Linked DNA regions of Homo sapiens: all the other regions are linked to region 5. Evidence: promoter capture Hi-C in 16 types of primary human blood cells and fetal thymus (Javierre and others, 2016). All regions are on one chromosome and are shown on one strand. The core of a region is centred on a gene start or on the middle of the fragment in contact, and the rest is flanking DNA. Distances in the headings are between cores, read along the strand shown. Region 1 has its middle 68 kb from the start of DLEU7-AS1. Region 2 has its middle 110 kb from the start of DLEU1-AS1. Region 3 has its middle 130 kb from the start of DLEU1-AS1. Region 4 overlaps DLEU7 (deleted in lymphocytic leukemia 7). Region 5 holds the start of DLEU1 (deleted in lymphocytic leukemia 1). Region 6 has its middle 44 kb from the start of DLEU7-AS1. Region 7 has its middle 25 kb from the start of DLEU7-AS1.

The links. Contacts are between HindIII fragments. The CHiCAGO score rates a contact against its expected background, and 5 or more counts as called.
Region 1: a fragment that was not itself captured here is called in contact with the fragment with the promoter of DLEU1 in region 5 in 1 of 17 cell types (total B cells); the score reaches 5.2 in total B cells.
Region 2: a fragment that was not itself captured here is called in contact with the fragment with the promoter of DLEU1 in region 5 in 2 of 17 cell types (total B cells and naive B cells); the score reaches 8.8 in total B cells.
Region 3: a contact is called between a fragment that was not itself captured here and the fragment with the promoter of DLEU1 in region 5, in 1 of 17 cell types (fetal thymus). The highest score is 5.9, in fetal thymus.
Region 4: a contact is called between a fragment that was not itself captured here and the fragment with the promoter of DLEU1 in region 5, in 1 of 17 cell types (fetal thymus). The highest score is 8.9, in fetal thymus.
Region 6: a fragment that was not itself captured here is called in contact with the fragment with the promoter of DLEU1 in region 5 in 2 of 17 cell types (naive B cells and total B cells); the score reaches 9.4 in naive B cells.
Region 7: a contact is called between a fragment that was not itself captured here and the fragment with the promoter of DLEU1 in region 5, in 6 of 17 cell types (total B cells, megakaryocytes, erythroblasts and 3 more). The highest score is 9.6, in total B cells.

The regions. Positions count from the first base shown.
Region 1 is chr13:50,738,340-50,742,329 of GRCh38, reverse strand. It overlaps a transcript of DLEU7 not described here. Among named protein-coding and RNA genes, the nearest start is that of DLEU7-AS1, 68 kb to the left of the region's middle. The HindIII fragment of the contact is 219 bases long and covers 2,223-2,441 here.
Region 2 is chr13:50,633,375-50,637,372 of GRCh38, reverse strand. No RefSeq gene overlaps it. Among named protein-coding and RNA genes, the nearest start is that of DLEU1-AS1, 110 kb to the right of the region's middle. RefSeq lists enhancers at 1,006-1,300, 1,697-1,896 and a silencer at 1,006-1,300. The HindIII fragment of the contact is 839 bases long and covers 1,400-2,238 here.
Region 3 is chr13:50,652,458-50,656,678 of GRCh38, reverse strand. No RefSeq gene overlaps it. Among named protein-coding and RNA genes, the nearest start is that of DLEU1-AS1, 130 kb to the right of the region's middle. The HindIII fragment of the contact is 6,749 bases long and covers 1-4,221 here.
Region 4 is chr13:50,832,193-50,836,357 of GRCh38, reverse strand. The region is part of intron 1 of DLEU7 (deleted in lymphocytic leukemia 7); the gene reads left to right. All of the region lies in intron 3 of DLEU7-AS1 (DLEU7 antisense RNA 1), which reads right to left. Among named protein-coding and RNA genes, the nearest start is that of DLEU7, 9.4 kb to the left of the region's middle. The HindIII fragment of the contact is 4,175 bases long and covers 501-4,165 here.
Region 5 is chr13:50,079,456-50,083,528 of GRCh38, reverse strand. It overlaps DLEU1 (deleted in lymphocytic leukemia 1), which reads right to left and starts at 1,360. Exons shown (of 7, transcript NR_109974.1): 1 at 972-1,360; 2 at 335-387. The region is part of intron 1 of DLEU2 (deleted in lymphocytic leukemia 2); the gene reads left to right. RefSeq lists enhancers at 436-1,231, 2,849-2,908 and silencers at 1,389-1,438, 1,839-2,058, 1,922-2,216. The HindIII fragment of the contact is 5,734 bases long and covers 1-4,073 here.
Region 6 is chr13:50,761,832-50,766,037 of GRCh38, reverse strand. It overlaps a transcript of DLEU7 not described here. Among named protein-coding and RNA genes, the nearest start is that of DLEU7-AS1, 44 kb to the left of the region's middle. The HindIII fragment of the contact is 3,137 bases long and covers 328-3,464 here.
Region 7 is chr13:50,780,968-50,785,136 of GRCh38, reverse strand. It overlaps a transcript of DLEU7 not described here. Among named protein-coding and RNA genes, the nearest start is that of DLEU7-AS1, 25 kb to the left of the region's middle. The HindIII fragment of the contact is 5,542 bases long and covers 1-4,169 here.

The DNA of each region.
Region 1 (3,990 bases), core at 1,083-3,582, 660 kb before region 5:
AGGACAATAAACTTTCCACCAAATGCTCTTACATAAAAAAGCAAGTAATTTTTAATTTTGCTCTTTTATTGATTCGTTGATTGCATTCCTTTTTTTCAGAAAATTGGAAAACACAAATATATCTGTATACTATTACTCTTGTTCCAAAACCTTAAAAATCTCTTGTACCTAAACTTCCCTGTCAATCTTACAGACTTGTCCCATTCTGGGACAAGCAATTTTAAGTAATATTAGAAAAATTTTTTGAATATCTTAGGGCAAAATAAATATGGCTTAAATTTATTTAACTGGGTAGAGGTACTCATGGAATTGTTGAAAGTGAACATCTATATGTGAGATCATTTCCAATTCTGAAGAAAGTAAATTTGGCTGCAATACATAATAAAATCATACTAATGTACTGAAGAGCATACTAAGTTTGACAATTTGCACGTACTGTGCATTTGGCCCTCCCATGCAAAAACTGAAAGAAAAGTCTGTAAAATGGACAAAGGCCAATGAGTTACTGTGTTTTTGGATTCTTACTTAATTCATATTTAATTTAAATATCTGATTAATGCCCACTTCATTGAATTATCATGGTTTCTAGTGAGAAATGCTATTTCTTTTATGATATTAATTGAGAAAGCTCTCCTCAAATGTAAAATTATTAAAAAGCTAAGGTAGGAACAGCTATGGGGAATTCTTAAAATATGAGATACGGTCTTGGCTTTCAGGCAGTTTATAATCTGGCTGGGAAACAGCAATAAAACAGGAAAAGTGTAAATGTTGATGTAGATAGAGGTACTGAGCCTTTACTTTGAAACAGTTGTCCTGAAATTTATTTTTGTATAAGAACTCCCCTGGTCAGAGTAGGAAAGCTTGATGAATTGCACATTCCTGGGGCCCAGCCCAAGAGATTTAGATTTTTAGTTTGAGGAAAGAGCTCAATCATCTGCATACTTCCCAAATACCCATGGCTTTCTGATTTAGGTGGTTCATGAGCCATATCTTCAGAATAGATGTTCCAGGTATTTTAATAGATGTATATAAAGCTGGCATTTGAGGAGGAGGATTAGGCATACATCTTCAGGGAATAATTTAGGGGAACTGAGAAGGCCCTTCTCCCCTGCTGCTTCTTCCAAATAACTTTCTAACTCTTCTAATTGGAAAACAAAATAATTCTACAAGTAGAAATGCATCCCTTCTGTTTGGAGCATTGTTCCTAATACAGTAGAAATACGTTGAGAAGAGAAGATTGTTTAGATGTTAGCTTTCAGCTATACCTCAGCTTGGCTGACTTTATTAGATCTTCTCTGAGACAGATTTTGATGGGGAAGCAGGTGGTGGTAGGGACACAGTTGCCCACAGTGTAGAGAGGAGAGGGGCCCAGGATGAACAAGGCTGTTCCAAGTGTTTCTATGAGTTCAGGAAGAATTGAGGATGTAAGGAGGATAATGGAAAAGAAAAGTGTGGCGTACAGAAGGCTTTTCACTTATAAGCAGGAACAGTCCAAAAAGGTTGGGGGTTTCATTTACTCATAAGATCAAAGTAATACTATTAAAATAAGGGTTTTTAATAGAATGGATGCATTTTTGCTTTGGTTCATTTGTTTGCATCTGTGAAAGTTCTTAAGTTGAGAGCTTGTAAATTTATATGTTTCTATATTTGAGACTATCGCCTCATATAGGCTTCCTTTAGAACCATAGACTTCAGAGATTAGCGATAAAAAGGCTTGGGGACCTCTTTGTTCCAGGACAGCAAATAGATTTCAGCTCATGTGTAGTCTTGAGTGGAATGGTAGTGACTGCCTGGTATACTGTTTTGTGAAGTTTTCTGTAAGTGATTAGCAATGCCTGTTCTATCTGTCATGGGAGTAGGCAGAACTCCATTAGTCTAATATCCTAATTTTATGCACACCAGGAAATTGAAATTCAGGTTTAGTCACAGAGAAACTTCAGAAAAGATTAAAAGAAATAAGCCTATGGTTTGTAAGTCTTTGTGTGGACATGGATTTAAATTGACTTGATTTTCTTATTAGGAAAGTTGCCCACAGGATTCCAGATGTTGAAAGAATGGTTTACTGTTACACTATTATGGTTTGAGGTTGTTGTGCATACCGTTTCAGTTTTCATCCTTTTCCCATTTGCCCATCATCAGGATGGAATGTACCAAGGGATCAATAAATAGAAGCCTAAATACTGCAGGAAAAAAATGTGTAAGCACCTTTTTGGAATAAAGCTTTTCAAACATTTTCAGGCTTAAAAGAACTTGAAACATTTAAATTCCTGTCAGGACTAAGGAAATGGAGCAGAAATCAATGAACTAGTGTGTGGTCTCGACAACAAGGCAGGGATCAACTCTCTACACATTCTCTCTCTATATGCCCTACCATTCATTAACCCATTTCTGATTTAATAAAAAAAAAATCTAGGCATCTAGAATCATTTCTTTGGGAAGCTTTACATGCCCCCAACAGGGAGTCTAGTGTCATTATGTATCTAAGCATTTGGCCAAAAGGGACTAGGTAGGGTTGGACTGTGCTGATAAGAAAGTGAGAATTCTCAGGGATCTGGCCACATCCCAGTTTTGGTCTCTTTGGTGTTGTGAGATGTAGCAGAAAAAGAACATTCCCTAGAAACTTTAATTAGAGATATGGCTGGTGAGAGAATTTTTGCAGATTCTCTCTCGTTCCTCTAATCCACCTATTTTTTACAAAAGGTAGTTCATATCTGGTCCCCTCCAGGATAAGCACAAAAGCCTCTTGAGAGTTAAAAAATCAGTCTCAGAAAGTACCTAACACCCATGTCTCTGTTTCTCTTCTCATTCCTTCCCCGTCTGGGTTTTGGCTCAAGGTTTGCCTGTCTCCAGATGGCATTTGCCTTCATCTCCATTCATAACTGAGTGTTAAAGGCCTGCCCTTTGTTCATTCATGGATTCACCTACTAGGCCATGAAGGTCTATTCAGTCAACAAACATTTATTGAATGCCTACTGGGTTACTGTTGGAAACAAGTCAAATTTGGTTCCAGATGATGCAGATCTTCTAATCTGGACCACAATGAAATTTACACAGAAGTGGTATAGTAACAGTTGTGTTCTGTGTCCCAAAGAAGAAAAAAAGGGAAGCAACCCAGCCTGAGAGGTCCGAGAAGAATTTACTGAGAAAGCAGTCTTGTATCTAACTGCTGAAGAATGAGTAGGATTGAGCTAGGTGGGAGGAGAGGAGGAAATAAAGGAAGAGCATTCCTGGTAGGGTAGGTCCCTGGTAAAGCCGCAAGGCAGGAAAGAACATGATAAGAAGAACAGAAATCAGGCCAGTGTGGCCAGTGTTTGTGTGTGTGTGCGTGTGTGTGTGTGTGTGTGTGTGTGTGTGTGTGTGTGTGTGTATTATTTTTTAGAGGCTGCTCACTGGGAGATGTCCAGAATGAGGATAGAGAGGTAGAAAGGGACCAGATCACCTAAGAACTTGTAGATCATGTTAAGAATTTTCAGCTTAAGCTTATGAACATCGCATGAGTTTAAGTAGCCAACACAGTACACCTCAGATACTATCTCTTTCAAGAAACTTTCCCCCATTTTCTTCCAGCATGTTATTTGAAAATACATGATATTCATCTTGTATCACAAATATATAAGTATGGATCTGTCTCCACTATACTATGATCTCATTGTAGGCAAGATTTGTATCTTTTTCATCTTTGTATGATTTGCTGTGTAGGTAGCAGGGTAATGTGGAAAGAGTTTGTTGGCATGGGAAGAACTTTGGAATCAGGCAGGTTCTTGTCATTACACTTTTTCCAATTCCATGACACTAATCATGTACCAAAAGCAGTAGGAGGGCCTACCCTGGGTGCAGGCAATAAGATGTGCATTGCCATTGAGAATTTAAAAACAAGAATAAGTCTGACTGAACGTTGGTCTGCTTTTTATTATCACCATGTACTGGCAATTCTAAACAATGTCAGTGATAAAATACTCCTCTCCCAAAAAATATCTTGTGAGTCTAGGT
Region 2 (3,998 bases), core at 570-3,069, 550 kb before region 5:
AAATGAAGAAGTAACATAGACTAACACCATTTAAAAAATCCCTAATGAATTAACAGAGAACCATATTAATTAATGCCACAAGGATACAATTGACAAAATCCAAACTGTGGGAAACCTTGGCTTATTCAACAGATAAATTGAAAGGACTACATAACAAGAGGTGGAAATAGAACTTATTAATTAATAAAGACTTAGGAACATATCCACTAGTCACAAGATTTCCAGTGATCTCACAAATATAATTTTTAAAGTTTGGTTTATTTGAATCCCGTTTCAAAGAAACTGAACTTTAAAAATTGTATTTATGAGACCACTGGAAATTTGAATACCGAGTTCTCTAATCAGCAGAAACAGATCTAATCAGCAGAAATGGATACTGAAGATTATTCTGAAAATACAGCCCATAAGGAGTTTGCAGAAATCCTTGGGAGGGTAATAGACTTCCCATGATCTATGGGAGGGCTATTGCAGTTCCAAAAGCTTATGTCTAGGTCCTTCCACCCCATAAGCCCTAATACATGCATTAATCACCCTTTTTCACCCTAAGTGACCAAATAACTGATCTGAGGAAGCACCCAGGAGGCTTGGGATATACTCCTGATTGTCATTAGTTACCACATGACTTACGACCGGCACTCAATTTATTTGGTCCTCAGTTACCACATTGGTACAATGAGAATAGCTTCAGGTTCTAAACATGACAATGATTCTATTCTAACTCGTGGTGTTGTGAATTGGTGCAAGGGGTGGGTAACCAGCAGCGAGCAGACTGAAACTCACAAATAGGTCCGCAGGTGATGTGTCCTTTCTTGTGTTGGCATCCCCAGAGAGGCGGACTATGGCCAGAGCAGCGACAAACACACTGAGGGGCCTTGCGGCAAGGGAGACATCCCACTTCCTGTTGTTTTCCATCGTTATAGGAGTGGGGTCTGTCTCTGAATTACAGCCTCTTGGTGTGAGAGCAGTCTGAGAAAATCAATATTTTGGGCTCAGCTACTAAGCTGCCTGAGCTTAGGTTCTAGCTGTTTAGGGGATTGCTAGGAAATGCCAGAGGCTCAGCACCTGGAGGCTTTAGGGGTCCTAAACCTGTGGGAAGTTAGTTTGAGACAGCCACTCCCACTGGAGAAAGGAATGTCCCTGGTCCTATGAGAACTTGTAGCCTCTCCTAGGAGAGGTGGGGCTTTCAGGCTACCTTGGTTGCCAGGCAACCCAGAGAAAGCTCTCAGGCCAGGGTAATTTACATACTCATTCTGCTTGTCTCCACAATTAGGTATCTATGTGGGTAATTTACTTAAACAAAGTTTGACATTTATTCATATTGTTACCAAGCAAAAGGCCTTGCTGCCTGAAGTGCTAGAAACCAATACTATGACACTGGGGTTTTGAGAAAATAAAAGCTTTTTATTGTAGGTCGACCAACAAGGGGACAGAAGTTCAGCTCAAATCTGTCTCCTTGTGCTGACTTTAAGGCAGTATTTTTATTAGAAAAGGGTTAGGGGTGGATTCTGAGATTAACTGGTGATTGGTGGAAGGAAAGGGGAGATCCAGAAAATCCTTGGCACACACAGTTATCTCTGCACGCTTCCTCATGGGTCACATGTTGCAAATTTGGGGGAAGTTAGTGTGAAACATGCAGTGGAAATTTGGGTTGTGACATCAGCAAGCTCGTTCTGCACTGACTCCATTTGGCCATATTGGTTCCAACTGATTTCAGCTAGGTTTGTTATGTTGCAAGCAGAGGGAGTTTCCGCATTTCAGCAAGTTTTTTCTTTTCTTATCTAGTCACTGGTTTCTTTAACTGTTTGGGTCACAGTTTCAATAATACAAAATGTCTTGAGTTTCTAGCATGAGAGAGGAACAAGAGACACAGCAATGAAGAGGCCAGATGGCTCATGGAATTTTCATTCTAGACTATGACATCTCCAAAGTGTCTATAATTTTCTATTCATTTCCCTATGTTTGCTGTAATGCTTTGCCCTAAAGATACAAAAGGGTATGGATTCTTCACTGCATTTTCTCTTATCTCTATCTCTCTGTAACATTTCTTCTTCTGTAAAGGGAACAGATTGGAATTGACAGACTCTAAGGATCTTTTCAGGGCAGAAGTCTTGTTATATGAACGTTACGGTAATTAAAAAGACACCTGGGAAAGAGTCATATGAAAACTGAACTCAGAAGGAGAGCCCTAGGTGGAGGACAATGGGGAACTGGAATTTCTTTGCCCTGATTTCAGAAGCTTCCAGTTGTTTCTGAGATAGCTCTTGAAAAATTGCTGTTAACCTGGTACTCTCTAGTCATAAACATGCTCAGACTTAGGAAGTAGAGTCACAGATGAGGTTCCACAAAATTATAGCGATGCGGGATAGGATACAGGCATGTCAAGACAATGTGACTTTGAAAAGATGATAAGGCCTTTAAGGCCTGGAAGCACCTGATGTGACCAGATCAGAAGGTAATCTTTGGAAATTGAATCCTATCTTATATATCTGTGTTTCTCCCCCATTGATTTTCCTTGAGAATTAATTAAATTCTGAGAGTGCTCTCAGCCTATCACAGCTATGCTAAAGGGAGCCAATGATATTATTCCTACTCAGATTAACTGGGGCATACAATTTTATATTTTGAGGTAAAAGCAAGGCTCTCCACCCCACAGCATCCCAAAGTGCCATGGTCAGCCTCTGCACTCCTGTTAGAGTTTACTCTATACTCTCCAGACCAGGAGCCCCCAACCCCAGGGCCACAGACTGGTACTGGTCTGTGGCCTGTTAGGAACTGGGCCACACAGCAGGAGGTGAGTGACAGGTGAGTGAGAGAAGCTTCATCTGTATTTACAGCTGCTCCTCATAGCTTGCATTACCACCTGAGCCCTGACTCCTGTCAGATCAGCAGGCAGCATTAGATTCTCATAGGAGTGCAAACCCTATTGTGAACTGTGTATGCGAGGGATCTCGGTTGCATGCTCCTCATGAGAGTCTAATGCCTGATGATCTGTCACTGTCTCCCATCACCCCGACATGGGACCACCTAGTTGCAGGAAAACAAGCTCAGGGCTCCCACTGATTCTACATTATGTCAGATTGTATAATTGTTTCATTATATATCACAATGTAATAATAATGGAAATAAAGTGTACAATAAACCAGAATGCACTTGAATCATCCTGAAACCATCTCCCCACCCCGGGTCCATGGAAAAATTGCCTTCCACGAAACTGGCCCCTGGTGCCAAAAAGGCTGGAGACTGCTGCTCTAGATACTCTCTCACTTGAACATATAGAATTATCAGATGGGGCAACTCTGCTCTACCAGGACAGGTTTCCCAAACTCCAAATGCAGAGAAGGAATGGCTGGGGGTCTAGAATCTTTTCCCTCACAAGACTTCAGAACTCTTTCTGCAAACTTCTTCACTTCGTCTCTGAGCTTTGTGTACTAACAGAAAACTAAGGTGATGGAAAAGGGCAAGGAACTAAGACAGGTGACAGAAAAGGGCAAACAGCGTGTGCTCACCTTGCACTTGCTCAACTGAGAAGGTTCAGCCAAGGGACTCATGAAGAACAGAAGGTATCTAACCCAAAGTGGCTTTTGACTTTTCCTAGACTGAAAGGAGCTGGCAACTCCACCAGCTAAACATGGATTTAGGCACAGACTCATCATCCAGCATTCTGTCACCCACTCCAGGGCCTGACCAGCACACTTAAGGAGGTTCCATGGAAGTGACCAGGGTGTGGAGAAAAAGCAGAGTGGAAGGCAGAGTGGGTGCTGGACCAGCTGGTCTCTAGACTGCAGAGCTATGAGACTTCCTGGCAGTCTTAAGTCTTAGAGCATTGGCGTTTCATTTCATTTAGAGGCCGACTTCTTCCACATCATCTTCAGAAACAGGAAAGGAAGCTGGGCACTGTGGCTTATACCTGTAATCCCAGATGCTCAGGAGGTTGAGGCAGGAGGATCACTTGAGGCCAGGAGTTTGAGACCACCCTGAGCACATAGCAAGACCCCATC
Region 3 (4,221 bases), core at 1,405-3,904, 570 kb before region 5:
GGCTCCTGGGCACAGGTAGAACAACAGGTAGTTTGCCCTGCTCCCTGCAATTGTGGTTCCATAAATTTCTCTGACCAATCAGATTAGCGACTCTGTATTAGAGGGGATGAAGGGAGTCCCCACCTGGGGGAGAGAGTTCCTTTATGGGCTGGGGAATAAAAGTTGGACATGAAGGACAGAGGTCAAGGATGTTTTTCCTTGTCTTCTCTTTCTGACAAAGACTCCAACCCATTTTAGAGTCCCCCATGACTGGATTCTTCAGCCCAAGTGGTTCAATTTTTTCCTGAACAAAATCTTCATTTCAATAAAAATGTAAATGTCACAAATTGTACCCTTATAACAAACATAAAGCTAGAATTTACCACAGCCCCTTCAGCTCCAAATCTAGCTTCTATAGAGTTATCTGCAATAAACTGTATTCTACCTACCATTTTTTGAGAATAGGAAAGGTACTCTTATGCTATGACTGTATTTGGGAAGAGCTGTGCATTATGAGCAAGACAAAAGCCCAGAATTAGGATGGTCAAATTAAGTGTAACAGGTTATCATTGTTTGAATAACTGGAATTTTAATCAGGACTCCTAGGTGCTACAGTAATTAATAGCTCATGATTAAGTTTCTGTTGGCAATTAATGTTAGCTTTTAAATCAGTGTATGTTACCTACATTATGCATTACATTTACATTTTTAAAGCAATAAAATATTTATGTTTATTGCACAATGTTCTTATGAATGTTTACAAGCATCCCAATTAATTATAAAGCAGTGCTATGGCAAATAGTTTTTGTGAAAACATTAATATTTAGATACTTGTCTCATAGTATAAGTTTGCAATGCCTGTCTTGTCTAATGTTTGCACATTGTGTTTGATAGAAAAACAGGTCTAAGTAAAGGCAGTATCTCAAGTAGCCTCATGAACAGAGGCAGCTTACACCTTCAATTGAATTGAATCAATGAACTCACAGGAAACATTCATTAGTTGGAACTGAAAACAATTTTTTTCTAATTATTTTTGGGATTTGGTTCATGAAGATATTTTTGGGAATTGACAAGAAAGCAAATTTATATACAAATATATGTCCTTTCTTTAACTGAAAGAAGTAGGGATGTTCTAAGTGCTTATTAAAAACAAAAAAGCAATAAAAAGATATTCTGCTTCTTCTACTCTGACCTAATTAATTTTAGCTATGTTTTGAGATTGGGCCATCAAAGTAATTATGATATTGAGATAATTTAAATCAAAACTACAATAAAAAGTCTGTTGGGGACAAAATGAACTTGGTCTCTAATGATGTCTATGATGTATATATTGCTTTAGGCCTTTAAAATATTCTTTCATGCCCTAAGGTGTATTTTCTTTTTCTTTTTCTGATGCTGAAGAAACTAACACAGAGCAGTAGTGTCCCACAGCAAATTAGTGGCAGAACGCAGGGTAGACCCAGGGCAGTACACCCTTTACTCTCAGACTCCATACAGCTCTCTTGTAGTATGCTGCTAATTTGCAAATTCTTTGGCGTCACAGAAATCTTTTTTTCAATGAAATTGCATGAGGAAGCCTAATATTTAAAACACACTGGAGCTGCTTGATAATTCCAAGCCAATTTCAATGCTTCCTTCAATTTTCAAAATACCTGCCAAATGGCAAGAGTTTCCAAGCAAACCGATTTTTCCCTACTTCATCTCCAAAAGAAATGGAACTCAAAGATCTTCTAAAAGATGCTTCCACTGCTACGGGCTCCATCACTGCTGATGGGCAGTGTCATCACCCAGGCAGGTTAACACCCAGGGACCTCACACACTTCAGCAGAACCAGAAGATGGGAAGTTCAAATTGTTGTTAGTGAACAGGTAATACTGGGATCAACGGCCTGATGCAGCCCCTATCATCAGTATTCCATCTGGGAATGCCCAAGCACTCTCCAGATATTAGCCTTGCATTCTGGACCATGCAGAAAAATACGAAAAGGGAGACTTGCTGAATCTTCAAGATTCCTAACCTTAACCACTGGATAAGTTAACACATCCTTTCTTAATCTGCCTGTAAGAAGAGGAGGAAAGAAGTTAACCTCATATATTTGAGTGTCTGCTGTACGCAAGGCATCAAGTCTCAACTTGATGATTTCCCTATTTCATTTGACGTTATGAGATGAGGAGTTTTGTTCTCACTTAACAAATGAGGAAATAAGACTTATGAAATATTGGCTTCATACCTTACCAAGATGACTCTGTTACGAGTTGGGATTTGAATCTAGACTAGTCAAATTCCAAAATCCATGTTCCTTCTGCCATTCCTCTGAGCCTTTTACCACTGGTGCCTCTCCTAATCACCAGAAATAAGGCTATTGAGCACGGGTTTTATAACATAAGGTACCTTTTTTATTGTAAAAGCCAGATACCCTTAGTAGACTATATGCACTTTGAGGAGTTCAGATCGTGGTAGACTTTGCTTCAACAAGTGTCTAGTATAGAGAAGGGAATTACTTAGTTTCATCCCCTCTTTTCTAAAGGATAATACTGCCTGCCATTATAATCTGTATTTATAATTACATGCTATACCATGTACCTGCTTGAAAGATATTAATGGACACTAACAATCAAGTTTTCAAAACCTCTTTCCATTTTATTACAGGATAGTTTGTTCTGATAAGACATATGGGCCTGTTCATTTGAGTTTCTTTTGATTAGGAAAAAGAGTTACTCAAATCAAGGACACAGCTATCATTCATATACAGGGAGATTCCTTGACAGGAGAGGAATACAGATTTATAAATATACTAATTGACTTCCCTGTTCTTGAGTTTTCATAACTATGGATGATCCTTTGCATCCGGCCACCCAGAAAACATATCAGAGCTATAATTTCTGAATGTGCTAATGATGAATGTCTCCTCACTGAGTAGCTCTTGCTGGAAGAGTTCCTGAAGGTGCATATCATTTGATCTCTCAATAGCCAGTGCAGTTACCCATACCTAGAAAAAAAGTTTTATTACTTTCAATTTTTAAATAATCTAGACTTTGCTCCATTCTCTGTAGTAACAGTAATATTAGGAGATAGGAGAATGGTCATTTTGCCAATTTCTTAGAAATGCAATTGATTTTTCTCAAAAACTTTACATTGCATTTGGTGTTAGATGACAATATTTAGAGCACTGATATCAAATAATGAGCCTGGAAAATATCTATACACCTATACACCTATACACACAGTTGTTTGAATAAAATGAAATAATTCGTGTTTTCCTGAAAGTGGAGTTTCTCTGGTCGGGAGAGGGATGCTGAAGTTGCCCCAGTCAACCTTTTCTTGCCCCCCTTCTCCTCTCTTCCCCATCTCCACTTCTTGTCCCCAAAGGGGACTCTGCAAAACCAGGTTTGGAAGCCCTTGTCCCAGACCTCCCCATGACTTATTTTTCTTGAAGACACTTCATGGACAATGAAATCATTTTTCTTTTCCCTTTGTTCAAATAGACACATAGCTTTGCTGTACCAAAGCAGCCCCCTGCCCCCCACCCCACACTCCATGTTCCAGAATAGTTTCCATTCAAGGAGCCTGAATTCTGTAGGTGGCCCCAGAAGCCAGGGGAGGGGAGAGGAGTAAAGCTGGAATATCAGCAGATTTTTAATCTTTCAAGACCCCCTTTTTTGTTGCTACAATATTTTCTTTTCTTCTTAAGGAAAATAATTCTTTAGTGAATAATTTTGGTCAATTTAAAAATAATTCTCAATATTACAAAAGAATTTGTGCTTATTGTAACTTAGTACAAATAAAGAATATGCCCACAAATTAAAATTTGGGTTTTAAAAACTTGCAAAAGTCTAGCTATTTTGGAGATATATAGAAGAAGCTGCAACTCCTTGTGGTCAAATATTGCTAATTAGAAGGTTCTGTGATGTTTCAGAAATATGAAAACTCTTATGCTTTGAAGACCATTGGCAGCAGAATAAATTAAAAAAAAACAGACAAAAACAAAACCTGGTAGGGTGGGAGTGGTGGGTGTCTACCTACACAAGGGCAGCCTGAGGCAAGAGGATCTAGCTCAAAAAATATGAAAGCTGAGAGCAGTTTTCCAGATTCTGCAACAATCTTCCCTGCATATTCCCTCCCGCAGCTCCCATCCTCCCTGGAAGCCTGCTGGGACCTGAAACCGTCCAGAGGGAAGGCTACCCCTGCCTAGCTCACTCTGGATGAGAGGGGACAGGGAAATGCCTCCATGGTCCCCATCCC
Region 4 (4,165 bases), core at 1,339-3,838, 750 kb before region 5:
TCCTCCTCTCCTTCTCTTTCTTCTCTTCTGTTCTCTTTCTCACTGCCCTCCCACCCCCATATCTCCATCTCTTTCCTTCGTGCTCTCTGTAGAGGACATGAAGGCTTCAGGGAGAGCTAGAGGGGGAAATGTGAGAAGAAACAAGCTTGTGGAGGCCAGTGTAAGAGAATAAAGCTCAAGGTATCTCAAGAGGTGACTGTTTTCAAAAGAGCCAACTTGTTGTAGAGCTGGTGGTTAAGTGAGTATGAGCTGATTTACAATTTACGTAGATTTAGGAGTGATTTTGAAGGTGACATGGTAGGAGAAAAAAGCACAATCCTTGTGGATTGTTTAAATGTTATCTGCATTTTAGAGTCTATTAAGTCATATTGGGTTTTTGACTTTATTATCCACTGGTGTTGGTTTCAGAAAACAGGCTTTCAAATGGACTCACACTGCTAGATTCTTCTTGTCTTCAAGACTCCAGTTATGATGAGAGTGTTTATTTTCAGTACCAAGCTTTAAAAACAGGCTTAACTTGTCTTCCGTTTTAAGATTTTGCAGGTGCATTTTCAGTTGTTCAAGAATTCCAGATGTGTGCATTCCTAATAAATGCACAATGCAGAATGCAGAAAAGTACACAGTGTGGCGGTTTTTCCGAGAGACATCCCTCACAGTGGGTAGGAGAGAACAGAGCTGAGGAAAGGAAACCTCCAGCTGGGCGGTTTCTGATTAGCTCAGGGTTGGTTTTACATGGGGTGTAGAAGGTTCGATGCCTTGAATATCTTTCAAATAGCCAAGCTCTCTCAATTACGCTGCAGGGAGGAGGGATGGGCCAACAGGCCAGTCTTCCATTTGGATGTGATCCTTGCCAATTTTTGAGCTTCGTACCACTCATAACACTCAGTCAACCTTAAGAAAAATAGTGTGAAGATGGCCAAAAAAGAAACATGAAACGATTCACTTGTAGGCATTTTGTTCCATCCCCAAAACTGGTTTAGTGCTTCTCCCACTTGCTTCCAAGAAGCCCCTGTCACCCCACCGGAGCAGCTACAGCTCTATAATTCCTGCCAGTCTTGTCTCCCACACTACATGGCTGAGCTTGGCTCTGTGAGCCATTACTGCACCTGGCATCATTTGGGATCTGGGCCGAGTCTGATGAGTGAGTTCTGAAATAGAGGAGTTAATTTTTTTTATTATACTTTAAGTTCTGTGCAGAATGTGCAGGTTTGTTACATAGGTATACACGTGCCATGGTGGTTTGCTGCATCCATCAACCCATCATCTACATTAGGTATTTCTCCTAATGCTATCCCTCCCCTAGCCCCCCACCCCCCTACAGGCCCCGGTATGTGATATGCCCCTCCCTGTGTACATGTGGTCTCATTGTTCAACTCCCACTTATGAGTGAGAACATGCAGTGTTTGGTTTTCTGTTCCTGTGTTAGTTTGCTAACAATGATGGCTTCATGGCTTCATCCATGTCCCTGCAAAGGACATGAACTCATCCTTTTTTATGGCTGCATAGTATTCCATGGTGCATATGTGCCACATTTTCTTTATCCAGTCTATCATTGATGGGCATTTGGGTTGGTTCCAAGTCTTTGCTATTGTGAATAGTGCTGCAATAAACATACATGTGCATGTGTGTTTATAGTAGAATGACCTATAATCCTTTGGGTGTATAACCAGTAATGGGATTGCTGGGTCTAATGGTATTTCTGGTTCTAGATCCTTGAGGAATCACCACACTGTCTTCCACAATGGTTGAACTAATTTACACTCCCACCAACAGTGTAAAAGCATTCCTATTTCTCCACATACTCTCCCGCATATGTTGTTTCCTGACTTTTTAATGATCTCCGTTCTACCTGGCATGAGATGGTATTTCATTATGGTTTTGATTTGCGTTTCTCTAATGACCAGTGATGATGAGTTTTTTTTTTTTGCATATGTTTGTTTGCCACACAAATGTCTTCTTTTGAGAAGTGTCTGTTCATATCCTTTTCCCACTTTTTGATGGGGTTGTTTTTTTCTTGTAAATTTGTTTAAGTTCCTTGTAGATTGTGGATATTAGCCCTTTGTTGGATGGATAGATTGCAAAAATTTTCTCCCATTTGTAGGTTGCCTGTTCACTCTGATGATAGTTTCTTTTGCTGTGCAGAAGCTCTTTAGTTTAATTAGATCCTATTTATCAATTTTGGCTTTTGTTGCCATTTTTTTTGTGTGTTTTAGTCATGAAGTCTTTGCCCATGCCTATGTCCTGAATGGTATTGTCTAGGTTTTCTTCTAGGGTTTTTATGGTTTTAGGTCTTACATTTAAGTCTTTAATCCATCTTGAGGTAATTTTTGTATAAGCTGTAAGGAAGGGGTCCAGTTTCAGTTTTTGGCATATGGCTAGTCAGTTTTCCCAACACTATTTTTTAAATAGGGAATCCTTTCCCCATTGTTTGTTTTTGTCAGGTTTGTCAAAGATCAGATGGTTGTAGATGTGTGGCATTATTTCTGAGGCCTCTGTTCTGTTCCATTTGTCTATATATCTGTTTTGGTACCAGTACCATGCTGTTTTGATTACTGTAGCCTTGTAGTATAGTTTGAAGTCAGGTAGTGTGATGCCTCCAGCTTTGTTCTTTTGGCTTAGGATTGTCTTGGCTATGCAGGCTCTTTTCGGTTCCATATGAAATTTAAAGTAGATTTTTCTAATTCTGTGAAGAAAGTCAATGGTAGCTTGATGGGAATAGCATTGAATCTATAAATTACCTTGGGCAGTATGACCATTTTCACAATATTCATTCTTCCTATCCATGAGCATGGAATGTTTTTCCATTTCTTTATGTCCTCTCTTATTTCCTTGAGCAGTGGTTTGTAGTTCTCATTGAAGAGGTCCTTCACATCCCTTGTAATTTGTATTCCTTGGTATTTTATTCTCTTTGTTGCAATTGTGAATGGGAGTTCACTCATGATTTGGCTCTCTGTTATTGGTGTATAAGAATGCTTGTGATTTTTGCACATTGATTTTGTATCCTGAGACTTTGCTGAAGTTGCTTATCAGCTTAAGGAGATTTTGGGCTGAGATGATGGGGTTTTCTAAATATACAATCATGTCATCTGCAAACAGAGGCAATTTGACTTCCTCTCTTCCTGTTTGAATACGCTTTATTTCTTTCTCTTGCGTGATTGCCCTGGCCAGAACTTCCAATACTATGTTGAATAGGAGTGGTGAGAGAGGGTGTCCTTGTCTTGTGCTGGTTTTCAAAGGGAATGCTTCCAGCTTTTGCCCATTCAGCATGATATTGGCTGTGGGTTTGTCATAAATAGCTCTTATAATTTTGAGATATGTTTTATCAATACCTAGTTTCTTAAGAGTTTTTAGCATGAAGGGCTGTTGAATTTTATCGAAGGACTTTTGTGCATCTGTTGAGATAATCATGTGGTTTTTGCCATTGGTTCTGTTTGTGTATGGATTACATTTATTGATTTGCATATGTTGAACACTCCTTAGCAAAGGCAAAAGAACGGAAATCATACAAACAGTCTCTCAGACCACAGTGCAATCAAATTACAACTCAGGATTAAGAAACTCACTCAGAACCGCACAACTACATGGAAACTGAACAACTGGCTCCTGAATGACTGCTGGGTAAATAACGAAATTAAGGCAGAAATAAATAAGTTCTTTGAAACCAATGAGAACAAAGATACAATGTACCAGAATCTCTGGGACGCAGCTAAAGTAGTGTTTAGAGGGAAATTTATAGCACTAAATGCCCATAGGAGAAGGTGGGAAAGATCTAATATCGACACCCTAATATCACAATTAAAAGAACTAGAGAAGCAAGAGCAAACAACTTCAAAAGCTAGCAGAAGATAGTAAATAACTACAATTAGAGCAGAACTGAAGGAGATAGAGACATGAAAAACCTTTCAAAAAATCAATGAATCCAGGAGCTGGTTTTTTGAAAAGATTAACAAAATAGACTGCTAGCCAGATTAATAAAGGAGAAAAGAGAGAAGAATCAAATAGACACAATAAAAATGATAAAGGGGCTATCACCACTGATCCCAAAGAAATACAAACTACCATCAGAGAATACTATAAACACCTCTGTGCAAATAAGCTAGAAATTCTAGAAGAAAATTGATAAATTCCTAGACACATATACCCTCCCAAGACCAAACCATGAAGA
Region 5 (4,073 bases), core at 111-2,610:
GGCGGGCGGATCGCGAGGTCAAGAGATCGAGACCCTTCTGGCCAACATGGTGAAACCCCGTCTCTATTAAAAGTACAAAAATTAGCTGGGCGTGGTGGCACTTGCCTGTAGTCCCAGCTACTCGGGAGGCTGAGGCAGGAGAATTGCTTGAACCCGGGAGGCGGAGGCTGCAGTGAGCCGAGATCGCGCCACTGCACTCCAGCCTGGCGACAGAGCGAGGCTCCGTCTCAAAAAAAAAAAAAAATTACAACTTTATTATCGTTAATTGTCCTATCAGAGTGCCCATTTTTTTTGAAGGTAGACAGGTTTGCCTAGATATGGTGCTTCTACTTACCAGTTCTAAGACTTTGGGGCAGATTTCTTAATCTGAACCTCAGGTGTCCTCATCTGTAAAGTGAAGATAATACCTACTTCATAAGGCTGTTGTGAGCAATAAACACGATTAATTCGTAAATCATTTATTTAGCACAGTGCCCAGCACACAGTACACAGTCAATACGTGGTAGCTGTCAGTATACCAACGTGTTGCACAACAGAAACTCGTCTTTGCTGGATTCAGTTCACTTATCACGCCATTAAAAAAAAAAATCATCCTAAGTGACACAGAAAAACTGCCCATTCCTATCTCAAAAAGTTTATGAACAAGTTAAGACGGTAAGAGAAACTGAATTCAATGAAAGCGCCTTCGCAACAGGCAGCTTAGGACCGGGAAGAAGGGCTTCAGCAAACTTAATCATTAACTCTAGGCAGGCGCGCGCGCACACACACACACACCGTTGAAGAAGGAGACCACGCCTCCTGTGTGGGCTCAGGTTGAATCGTACAGCGTGGTAGAGAACTCCAGGGCTGCTGAATCTGACAGATGTGGATTCATCCACTTCTGTGCCACCTGTGCTGTCTTGGGCAAATTACTTAACGTCTCTGAGCCTAGGTTTCCTGGTCTTCAAAACGAGAACAGTAATAGTTCCTACCTGGTAAAGTTGTTCCGAGGCTTAAGTGCGATAACCCCTGTAAAGCGCTGGAGAACGGCAAAAGCTCTACAAGCCGGCAGGGCGGTTTTAAATGCACGTGTATCCATATACAAGGTCTCATTGATACATTCCGTTGTTTGGAGTTTAGACACTGGCTGTAAGACGTTTTTCTTTTCTCCTAAGCAGGACCCGTATTTGTTTACCTCCAACGTAGACTAAATGCCTGTGGGCTGGTAGCTATAAGACGACCCCTCGGCCCCACAACCTCTAAGTTCACTTCACCTCCGCGGCTTTGCAAAAGCGCTACACGCACGCGCAAGAAGCAAGAGGACTGCAACCGAAGAAGCAAAGGGAGAGCCGTGCACCACGATGATTCTGCGCATGTGCCTGGCGGGAGGAGGGGGGAGGGTTGGAGTTTGCGCATGCGTAAAAATGTCGGGAAAGCAAGAGAAGGGGGGTTAAGAGGCGGTATTGACAGCTGTGGAGGCAGCCCGCGTTCCCGGCATTCCCTGGGGCGGCGGGGTTGGCTCTAACGAATTTGAATGAGGAGCCTCAGCGCTTTCGGCGCCATTTTCGAGTGATGCCTGATCTCATCAATCTAGCGGGAGAGACAGGATAACCTGTCCGAGAGTATAGCGCCACTATGACTCCGCCGGAAAAATTACTTTAAAAATCGCCAAAAATTACTTGGAGCAAAGGGCAGTCGGCGGAGCTTCGCCAAGGCTGGCGCAGTCGGTAAGAGCCTGAAGAAGTAGCAGAGCGGGACTCGGGAGGTGGCAGTGGTGGGACCCGCAGGCAGTGGTGGGTGCAGGGAGTGGGCGCGGGGTCTACTCTCACTTAATCGCGAAAAATCCGAGGAAGTAGGGTTAGGGGCAACTTGGGCGTCTGCGAGTGGGCGGCGGCGGGCGGAATGTGGCGGGAGCGCGGAGAGACGGGGCTGTGGGGGGAGGGGAGCTGCAGTTTGAGCGGGACGCGGACCGGCTGCGGCGGAGCAGCCGCCGCCCAGCGGATCTGTCAGCAAGACCCCCCGCCCGGGACCGGAGCCGGGGACGGCGCACTGCGGGGTCTCTGCAGGCGGCCGCTCCTTGACAGGAGGACTGGACGCGCGCCCCTCCCCCATTTCCGAACCGGGCCGCCTTTTCTCGCCGTTTTCTCGACCCGGTGATGGCCGTCATCTCGTGACAAGAAACTTAAGGTCGACAGAAAATTCAGGACCCGGAGTCATGGGTCCCTCCGGTGGGTCGTGGCAACAGTCCCCCCCGCCACCGCCCGGCACCCATCTATCTATATTGTCTTTTGACGCTGAAGCGTGAGGTGCCCCAGGAAAGAGTTTCCCAAGCCCTGGCTGCCCTCCCCCGGCGCGCTGGGTCCCGGTGAGGTCTCTAGGTAGGTAGGACTGGCCGCGGCTCGCGCTTCCAAGATGGGGCAGGGGCAGGCTTTTGAGGTTGTAGCGGGCTCTTAGGAAAGATGCTGGACTTTAGCTTCTTTCTGGGGATTTTTGTCATTTGCTCTCGCAGCGTTGTCCTTTCTCAAAGGGGAGGAGTGTTCACGGGTGAGATGAAAGATGGGGCTTCGAGCTAACGATTTCCTTCTCGTGGCTATTTCCTCCGAGTCGCACTTTCTTAGAAGACTTTTTTCTTCTCCGGTGTTTGAAACATGTCGCAAGGAAAAAAGCAATCTGTGAAACTATTAATGTTTTCCTCCCCCAAAAGTCTTTACCCGGACAACTTAACGGTAATTTTGCGATCCCCACCTTTTCTTGACGCTGAGGAGGAGGGACGAGAGTTGTTATTTGTCTTTCCCTTCGGTGATTTTTTTTTTCCCCCTTAGCTGGTGGTTTCTATCAATTCTTACTCCACAGCTCTTGAGTGATGTGAGCCAGTGACGGCATTAACTTTAGGTAATACTTCTATGGCCTTTGTAAAAATCCCGCGTTAAGGATGTATTAGATCTTGAGTTCTTTTCCGCGCTGGAGGCACCACTAGATTAACCCTTTGCCGGTGTATTGCGTGTGGGGCGCACGGCTCTGGGTTGCAAATATTCCGGAGATGCTTTCTGCAGCAGCTATTCTGTTCAGTTGTTCGCAAAGAGGAATAACGCTTCCTGGGAACCGCGGTGACACGCTTCTTTAGGACTGCCTGCCTACAGAGTTTTTCCCCGTGGAATTGATGTAACGATTGATTTATTTCTTATATTCTATGAAGACTGGGGGACCCGCCCTCGCTTAGAATGTTTCCCGGAGGAGAATAGAAGAGTGCAATGTGATGTTTTTCAAATTGTGTCTAACGGAGCTCCCTAAACTCTGGACTTGTTACCCCCTGATTGGCTGGAAGGAAGCGGGCCTGGGGGGTTTGAATGTTGAACGCTAAACTATAATTCTCGACTTTACGAAAAAATATACTTTTAGCCAGAGAACCACGGAAATAGCTACGAAACGTTAGGACGAGAGTTTAGAAAAAAAGTTGGTTTTTAATAGTTTTTTTTCCTCTCAGAAAGGATTTTCGTGTGGTTCTCAAATGTATATTAAAAGTAAAACTGAAGAGGCTGTTTTCGCAAAATTATGTTTCTGCTGGTTGAAATTAACAAGACTTTTATATATTTGTCACTGTTCTTTATTGGTTAAAAACTGAGTGAAAAATTTAGTTTTTTTCCTTTGATAGGAATTTTTCACCTTAAACTACATATATTTGTTGGATGCAGATTACCGGACAGTTGTTTCTTTTATTTTGATGCAAAGAAACTAATTTTCTTAAGGTTCACGAATGATCTTTTTAACATTTTCCATAAAAATTGAACATCTTATTTAAAAAACTTTTCGCATCTAGTGAAAATATACATTTTGCTAATTCAGTAACTGCAGTGAACTAAAACTTTAATTTACAAAACATTTATGTTTCTTAATTTAGACAACAGGTAAGCACAGGTGCGTATCTATTATTTAGTTCCTTTGATAAATTCATTATGAAGAAATATATTGTATACAACAGTGTGGGTGTGCTGTTTTTTATCTGGTTGATTTTCAGTTGATTTTTGTTCGATGTTGCCTGAGACAGCCTCAGTATATTTCCATTTATTACCGAGCTTGTCATTCCATTTAATTGC
Region 6 (4,206 bases), core at 647-3,146, 680 kb before region 5:
CCCACCCCCAACCCTCCTACTAAAGAGTACATTTAAGAAATCTTCTGAAAAAGTCCAAAAGCTAATGTCAAGTAGAAACCACATTAGATGAAATGGGAATTCATCACTAAAAGTGCTTAGAGAAAAAGCATTTGACCCCTTTTGAGCCTCCAAATAATCCACGCAATGCAAGTTTTCTTGGCCTTCACTTGCTGTCTTCTCAACCTTGGTTCTTCCCTGTTGAGTGCCTCCACAACAATGGCCATGTCTCCTTCATCTTCATATTGCTGGCTCCCAGTACAGTGCCTGGCACATGTGAGGGGTTCAAAACTTTTGCTGAACTAAGCTTAACTTTCATTCTAGTGTCATTTTAACATATCTGTGTTCTCGGTGTCTTCTACATTTCTTCTTTCCTCCTTCACATTTCTCCTGGTCTTCTTCCTTTCTATCTGTTTATTTTATTCTCTTCTTTGCCCTTTCTGTCTTTTACTCTTCTCTCCCCCAGGGCCTGATTATTGCCAGAAGAGGACCAAGTTGGGAACCAGAATGTGGAGAAAACAAATTCTTCCAGCCTCTTCCAAACTTCCTTCCCTCCTCTTCTTTCTCCTTCCTCCTCTTCTTTCTCCTTCCTCCTCATTTTCTCTTCCCTTGTCTTCTTCCATTTATCTTCCTTTTTCCTTCCCCTGTCTGCACCCTTCAGGCTTCGCTTTCTAAAGTCCTCCATGTAGAAACATCTTATTAATGTGAAGGATGCAGTGCTATTTGAGTCATTGGAGTAAAAGCCATTTTTCATTTCCTAATAATACCCTGTCTTTAGTGATTCTTAATTTTGAATAAATTCTCCTCTACATCACAAACACAAATTCATTCTAAGGTGCAACATGGCAGTGGCTCATGCCTGTAATCTCAGCACTTTGGGAGGCTGAGATAGGTGGATCACCTGAGGTCAGGAGTTAGAGACCAGCCTGGCCAACAAGGTGAAACCCTGTTTCTACTAAAGATACAAAAATTTACCAGGCATGATGGTGCGTGCCTGTAATCCCAGCTACTTTGGAGGCTGTGGCAGAAGAATTGCTTGAACACAGGATGCAGAAGTTGCAGTGAGCCGAGATTGCCCCACTGCACTCCAGCCTGGGCAACAGAGTGAGACTCTGTCTCAAACAAAACAAAACAAAACAAAACAAACCCAAAAAAGGTGCAACATGACCCATTTAATATACTTCATTCTTCAGTATTCTTAATTAGTGAACACTCTAACTTTATGGATAATTGTTATATCTTCATCAGCATTTCATGGACTATCTGATGGAGTGAACACTCAAGGGATTTGACTCAAGTTCCCTGAACAAGCTAAATGGAATAGTACACTGCCCCTTCATCTCCAAGACAATCCATTGTGTTAATTTGTTCAGTCTTCTATGAATGATGATCAAATGCTTATGAATAACAACTGTGCCAGAAATGACTAAGATTAGGGGTTCATAGATAAGTGTTTTAAGAAACACTTAAAGCCTCTGAACTTATTTAATTCCATTATTCTTTTGACTCACTGCGTTCTCATTGGTAATTCACAGCTTTCTGTATAGCCTAGGTCCTTCGGCCATCCAGAGGTTTTGTTCGTTGTTAGTTAATGACTCCTGGAAATGGGAGGAAGAACACAAAACTTCAGACCAGTTCAGAAAAGATGAGCTTCTGGTGGAACTATATTATTTTTCAGGAAGAAATAATATAGGAGTGGAAGAAGGAAACCAAGACTGTTGAACTCCTTTTATGGAGTTCACAGAAGCAACTATGAATGATTATATGTTATGATGCAACTTGTAATGTGTTAACTCTTTAATTCTCACAAAACACTGTAAGGGAGGAATTCTTATATTATAGATGAAGGAATGGAGACTCAGAGGGGTGAGTGGACTTGTTCAAGATCACAGAGCGCGACAGTGCTGAAACCAGGATTCAAACCCAGGTCTGGCCAAGTCCAAAGCCCATGTGCGTTCTAGTACACTCTACCTGCAGTGCCTTAAATGCAGTGCGGGACTATAAACACAGCCTTTCCGCCTGTCTCTTCTTTAATATTGTCTCTTACTTTGTTTCATCAGTAACAGCACCTCCCATTTTATGGTGCTTTACAGACATTTATCAGGTGTTTTCACAGACACTGTCTCACTTAGTCCCCACAGCAATCCTGGGAAATACTAGTGTTGTTTGCAGTTTACAGATGTGGAAACTGGGATCTGGAGTGATGATGGGGTTGGCTTCTGGTCAGACAGCAAGTCAGTGACGGGGCTGATTCTGAAAGGAAGATGGGGCTGGGCCAGGTCACTGGGAAGCCTGCAGGGCAGATCCGGGAGCTAGGATTGGTAAAAGACATGTCAAAAGGGTCAGGGCAGGAAGGGCAGTGTGGCTGGCTGAGTATTTCATTCAGAGGTGAATTCTATTTTCTGTGAATTGCAGAATTTTCTGACAGTTCTGTTTCCCACTTTGCTGTTTAGGGCACTCACATGATCTCCCTAACTCCTGACTCTGAACATTCTTGCTTCACCCAGGGTCTTGCACTTTTCTTTCTATGTTCATCTTCTTAAAGCATGGTTCATTTTCTTCTTCCATCTGCACAGGCTTGATTTCTGATGCAGGCCCTCATCATGTCTTACTTGAATAACTGCAGAGCAGTCTTCTGATAGGGCTTCCTGTCTTCAGCCAGCTCTCCTGCCCTGCTGTTCACACTAGACTGATTTTCCTAAAATGCAAATGTGATCATAGTTCTCTGCTTAACATTTGTTAGTGGTTCCCAATCTCTTTTAGGACTAGATCCAGCCTCCTTATTACAATGAATGGGATCCTTCATAACTCGAGCCCTCCCCAGCGTCCCCAGGACATCAGTGCCACAGCAGTACCGAGCTGCTGCTTGATCTCACACCCCTCTGCATCTCACACATCATTGTCCCTCTGCGTGCAGTTGGTGATCTCTCCTGCTCTCCTTTAATTAACTGCCAGGCAGCTGCCTTCCCACCTCTCTGGTGTTGTCTCCTTTCCTAAAGACCCAAGCAGACCTAGGGCTACCATTACATATGCACTTGTGGGTCTGCAGGGCACTTTCTCTCCACCAGTTGGAGGCACACTGGTGGGAAGAACTTTATCTTTTCACCTGTGATTCTTTCTCTCCCTGCAACATCCCTTCCTGGATGCAGATCTTTCCTGGATGCAGGGGGACTTTTTGTAATCTTGGGGAGGCGGCTGTTGCTTTTTTTTTTTTTTTTTCTAGCACAATAAAGGGCAGGAGATTAACCTCTTCAGTGTGAGAGTGTGTTTTTGTTGTTTTTTTGTTTTGTTTTGTGGGGTGGCCTGGGGTAGGAAGAGTTCCATTCTTAAACCACCTTGGTGGCATCTTCTCCTTTAATCCCCGCCTTCAAGATGTATACAGCTTCTTTCTTTCTCCTCCATTTAATGTGTTGACACCCATAAAAGTTGTGAAAAGAATGCAAGCTTCCATCAAGTTCAAAGCTATTGGATTTAGATGAAAAAGACATTTGTAGGCCTTGAGAGGCAAAGAAATGCCACCCATAATAGTGAGGCAGCAGCCAGGATAGGTTCCGACCTGGGCTTTACCCTGTTCCGTGAGCACAGCAGGGATATGAGCTGTCTAGATTCTGAGAATGATAAGTCTGTATTTTAATTATAATGCTCCAGGAGTAGGCATTAATTCATGCAGTCAGCATCCTGGCTAAAATCCCTGCTTGTGATAGTCGTAATCCCCAAACATTGCATAGTCAGAAACCCTGGGAAGACACAGAACTAAACATATAAGTCTTTTAGAGAATCAAAACTGTATCACTGATATTTTCTTTTCTTTTTTTTTTTTTTTTTTTTTTGAGACGAGTCTCGCTCTGTCACCCAGGCTGGAGTGCAGTGGTGCGATCTTGGCTCACTGCAACCTCCGCCTCCCGGGCTCAAGCAATTCTCTGCCTCAGCCTCCCGAGTAGCTGGGATTACAGGTGCCCACCACCACGCCTGGCTAATTTTTTTTGTATTTTTAGTAGAGATGGGGTTTCACCATCTTGGCCAGGCAGGTCTTGAACTCCTGACCCTGTGATCCACCCACCTCGGCCTCCCAAAGTGCTGGGATTACAGGCGTGAGCCACCGTGCCCGGCCCAATATTTTCAAGTTAAGAATCTCTACTTATTTGGTATATTTCATTAATGTTTTAAAGAAATTGCCTATTAGAATAA
Region 7 (4,169 bases), core at 1,045-3,544, 700 kb before region 5:
CAGCTTAAGTCAGCAGGAAGGAACATTAACCCAGGCCATCTAGTAGATTATCCATTGGCAAACTCAGGCTTCACAGGACCAACAGTCATGGCACTTCCATAGGGCATGACGTAAGCTGAGGGGTTGTCTCTTCTCCTTATATAAGCAGCCCAAGTAAAAGCCCAATTATGTTAAATCTAGAGAAGAACAAGAAGTCCCCAGACTCTCTTCAGTAAGAAAAAACTAATTTGCACATCTGAAGACAGCTAGTTTCAGGTTGATAACTGACAGCTCTAGGGAAGAACAGTTCACTCAGAGCTGCAGGACAGGTTCCAATATGAATCGCTTACTTTTATAAAGCACTTAACTGTTCACACAGATGCAGGGAAGGAGATTGATCACTCCACTACAGATCAGAGAAAGAACCCAGATGGTCCGAGCAGCTTGTCTAAGGTCACCGCTAGGGAGAAGTGGCAGGTCAGGGATGGGAGTCCATGCTTTCAAATGCAGCGGCCATGCAATCTCTCTGTGAGTGTCTCCAGGACAGGTTGCCATTTGTGCCCATAGAAAATGCACTTGAACACTTCTCCTGAGTGTGACATGCTCTGTGGAGGGAAATGTCCATTATCTGGGGGCACAAACATCTTTCTTGGAGAATAATGTGATCGAAAATTCCCATTGCTTCTCCTCCCTTGAGATGGAAACAAGTTGGGGAGAGGTATGCAGTGAACAATTCAGAAGAACCAATAACCAAGCTAAGTTAAGGCAGATATGCAGATGGAATTCCAGTAGGTTTGATTTCCACATGAGATGCCCAGCTGCATTTTTCCATCACTTTTTATGGGCCTCTAAGGAGCTGTGAAAAATACCTGGTCTGTAGGGACCAATGTTCTGAAGTAAGCAGCTAGGAAAAAATCCTTCTTTAATATGTCTTGAAGTGAATTCATGATTGCACCAGAAATATATCTTAATACAACATGAGCACATCAATAACCCAAAAAGCAGAAGTGCTTCCAAAGCACTTCAAGTGGACGTTTGATTAACATCTCACAGCTCTAGACATTTGGAAACTCTCTGCATCCAGGTTGCACAGAAATCCATGTGCCTGGCAAAACACAGGGGGCGGGTCGCTGAACTGAAGCTAGAGCTTACGGCTTTGCAAGAGCAAGGGTTGGCAACCTCTTAAAAACAGGGAGTGGTAAGTCTGTGATCTTTGTTCTGGCAGAGCAGTCACAGCACAGGCCTAGAGGGCCTGGCCATATCTCTATATGTGTTCCTTTGGGCGTGGTATGGGCCAGCATGGGGAGAGCCTATGGCAGGGATCAGGGACTGATGGCTGGGGATGGGTGTGTAAAAAAGTGTCTGTTGCTGGAGTAAATTTCAGAGGACTCACCTCAGCTCACCAGTACGTCTCCAGCACTTTGTGTTGAATTTGTGAGCACCTATTTTCTTTATGTTTTACATTCCTGCTACCTGTTTGTGGCAGAGACGCTATTGGCCATCAATCCATCAGCTATAGCCTGTACTTTCTTTTGCTCACAGGACTTCACTGCAGTCACCCTCCTCTGAGAGGTTGTATCGGCTGGGTCCCTCCCCATACTAGGGAGGGAAGCTCCACTGGTCTAAGCTAATCATAGTGGTGTCATTCTAAGTGAATGAAACTACAGAATAATTATAACTTGGAGTGAGATGGTTTGGGGATCAACAAGGCTTCCAGTTGGCCAGAGGGTGGACTCTGTGTAAGATTATGTGTAAGATGACGTAACCTGAAAATATAGATTAGAATCAAGCTATTGGGGTACTTTGAATGATAGGCCAGGAAGTTTAGATTTTGTTCATGTCATTGTTTGGTTCAGATAGTTTATTTGGAAGGCCATCTCTGGGGGCACAAAAGGGAAGAAGTAGGGGAAGTGAGATAGGGAAGGGAGAAACCAATGAAACATTTGTTAAATGAGTGATTTGCTGCTGTGAGCAATGGGAGCTCAGCCCTGCTGGGCCCCCTGAGAAATGGAGAAACACACTTTAGAATCCATCTACCGGAGATAAGGAGACTGAGGAATTCAGCAAGTGATTCCCAACCCCTATTGGTTGAGGTTGCCCTCAGCAGTGTTGACTTTTCCCAACTTCTGGGTTATACCTTTTGTAAAACAAGCTCCCTTGATGCTGGAGAAAACTTTTAGGAAGAATAGAAAAGAGACACACGCCTTTGAAGTGGGAAACTGTCTTGGGAGCTCATGTTGTAGGTGAACGCAGGCTGAGGGGAGGTGGACCCAGGCACCAACAGCATCTGCTACATTCAGTAATTAATGGAAGACACAGAAAATGTTTGAATAGGTAAAGGACATGATTAGAAGTTATCCTGAAGAGTTTTTTTTTTTTTTTTCTGTAGACAGTGTATATGATGGGTGGGAATTCACATTTTTATTCAAAAGACAATTTTGAGTCCTGTGCAATATGCTAGGAATATGGTAAGGAATAAATCTTCTGACTTCAAGAAGCTCACTATATGGAAACTAGGGCTATTTTGTAGAAGATGAGGAGGCTGTGCTAATGGTCAAGTGTGAAATAATGAGGAAGCAAATTAAAGCCATGGCAAGGGAAGGCAGAAAGGATAAAATGGTTGGAGATAAAATTGCAGAGATCAAATGAAGAGGTCGCAATAGCTTCTTGGACAAGGAGGTTGAGAGTGAGGGAGAATTCATAGATGACTAAAGTTTTGGTTATGGCTATTTGAGAATATCACACTGCCAACAACAGAATCTTAGATGCTGAGAAAAGAGCTATATTGGAGGATGGCACAGAGGCTGGGAAAATGATTACCATGGCAAAGACACAACATATGCACATGTCTGATTTCCGTTAGCCATTTATTGGAAATGGCTTTTGTTTCAGGAACCATGCCAGTCACTGTACTAAAGTCTAGTTACAAAGACTAATGAAAAATGATTTTTATTCTCAAGGGACTTACAGACCCTTTGTGAGGGAGGTGGTTTTCTAGATATGTGAGGAGTCATGATCAGACCACTAACGGAGGGAAGAGAGTGTTAAGAAAGGCTTCTTGAAATATATGACATTTGAGCCAAGTTTTTTGGGGGTATGGGGGAAAGAGATAGATGAAATGCTTTTATTCTAGAGGGCAGCCACTATGCATATAAATAAAACCACAGTTTGAATACATATGGAGAAGGACATACTAAATGTTCAAAGATATTCATGGCTTACAGAGCCTAAAAGTGTAGTGGGCTCTTGGCATCAAATTTCAAGATTTTCTGACTTCTAACATAAAATCTTAAAATCAAAGCCATCTATTTTTTAATCTCACAAATATTTGCAAATAAAACAATTCAGTAGAATTTTTTTTTATTTGTTCTATTTCATCTAAGGCAAAATCTTGTCAAAATTATCACAACTTCCTAGTGTTCTGAGCTGAGATGCGAAGGACAGATAGGAGTCTTCCCGGCAAAGACAGGCGTGGTCTAGATCATGGTTGCTATTGATAATTTATGCCACAGATGATAAGGAGCCATAAAAAGGGCTCCAGGTAGGGGAGTGTCACCATCAAATGTGTGTTTTAGGAAGATCCACGAGGCAGTGATGTGGGGAACAAGGGACTGAGGCAGGAAGACCATTTGCAGATGCTCTAGAGCAGCCGTTTTCAAAGTGTCTAGGGATGTTGGCGGTGCTCAAGATCTTCCTGGAGGTCCAGGAGTTCAAAACTATTTTCACAGTTACTAAGATGGTATTTGCTTTTTCACTTTCATTCTCTTACTGGTATACAGTGGAGTTTTCCAGAGGCGAAGTGACATGTGATGACAGCATTTCTCTGATGGCTGGTCAAATGTGCTTCGCTATTTTTGTGTGTTTTAAACATTCCTTTCTACTTTCTAGTTAATTTCTAAAGTGGCCTATGTCCAATATGGTAAATATTGATTGGTACAACCCTCATGAACAAAAGCACTTTGAGATTCTCAACAATTACTGAGTGTATAGAGGTTTTAGTACCAACAAGTCTGAGAACCACTGCTTTATAGATATTTACCAACTTGATTTAGAAAAATAGCCATTTAAGGAAGGCAGGCAGAAATTCTCCAGTTATTTGGGTAAGAAAATGCAGGCAGAAAATCAGAACATGTTTGATTGATTGCTTGAGCAAACCCAAGGATAGATGGACAGATGGATGGATTGGGAAC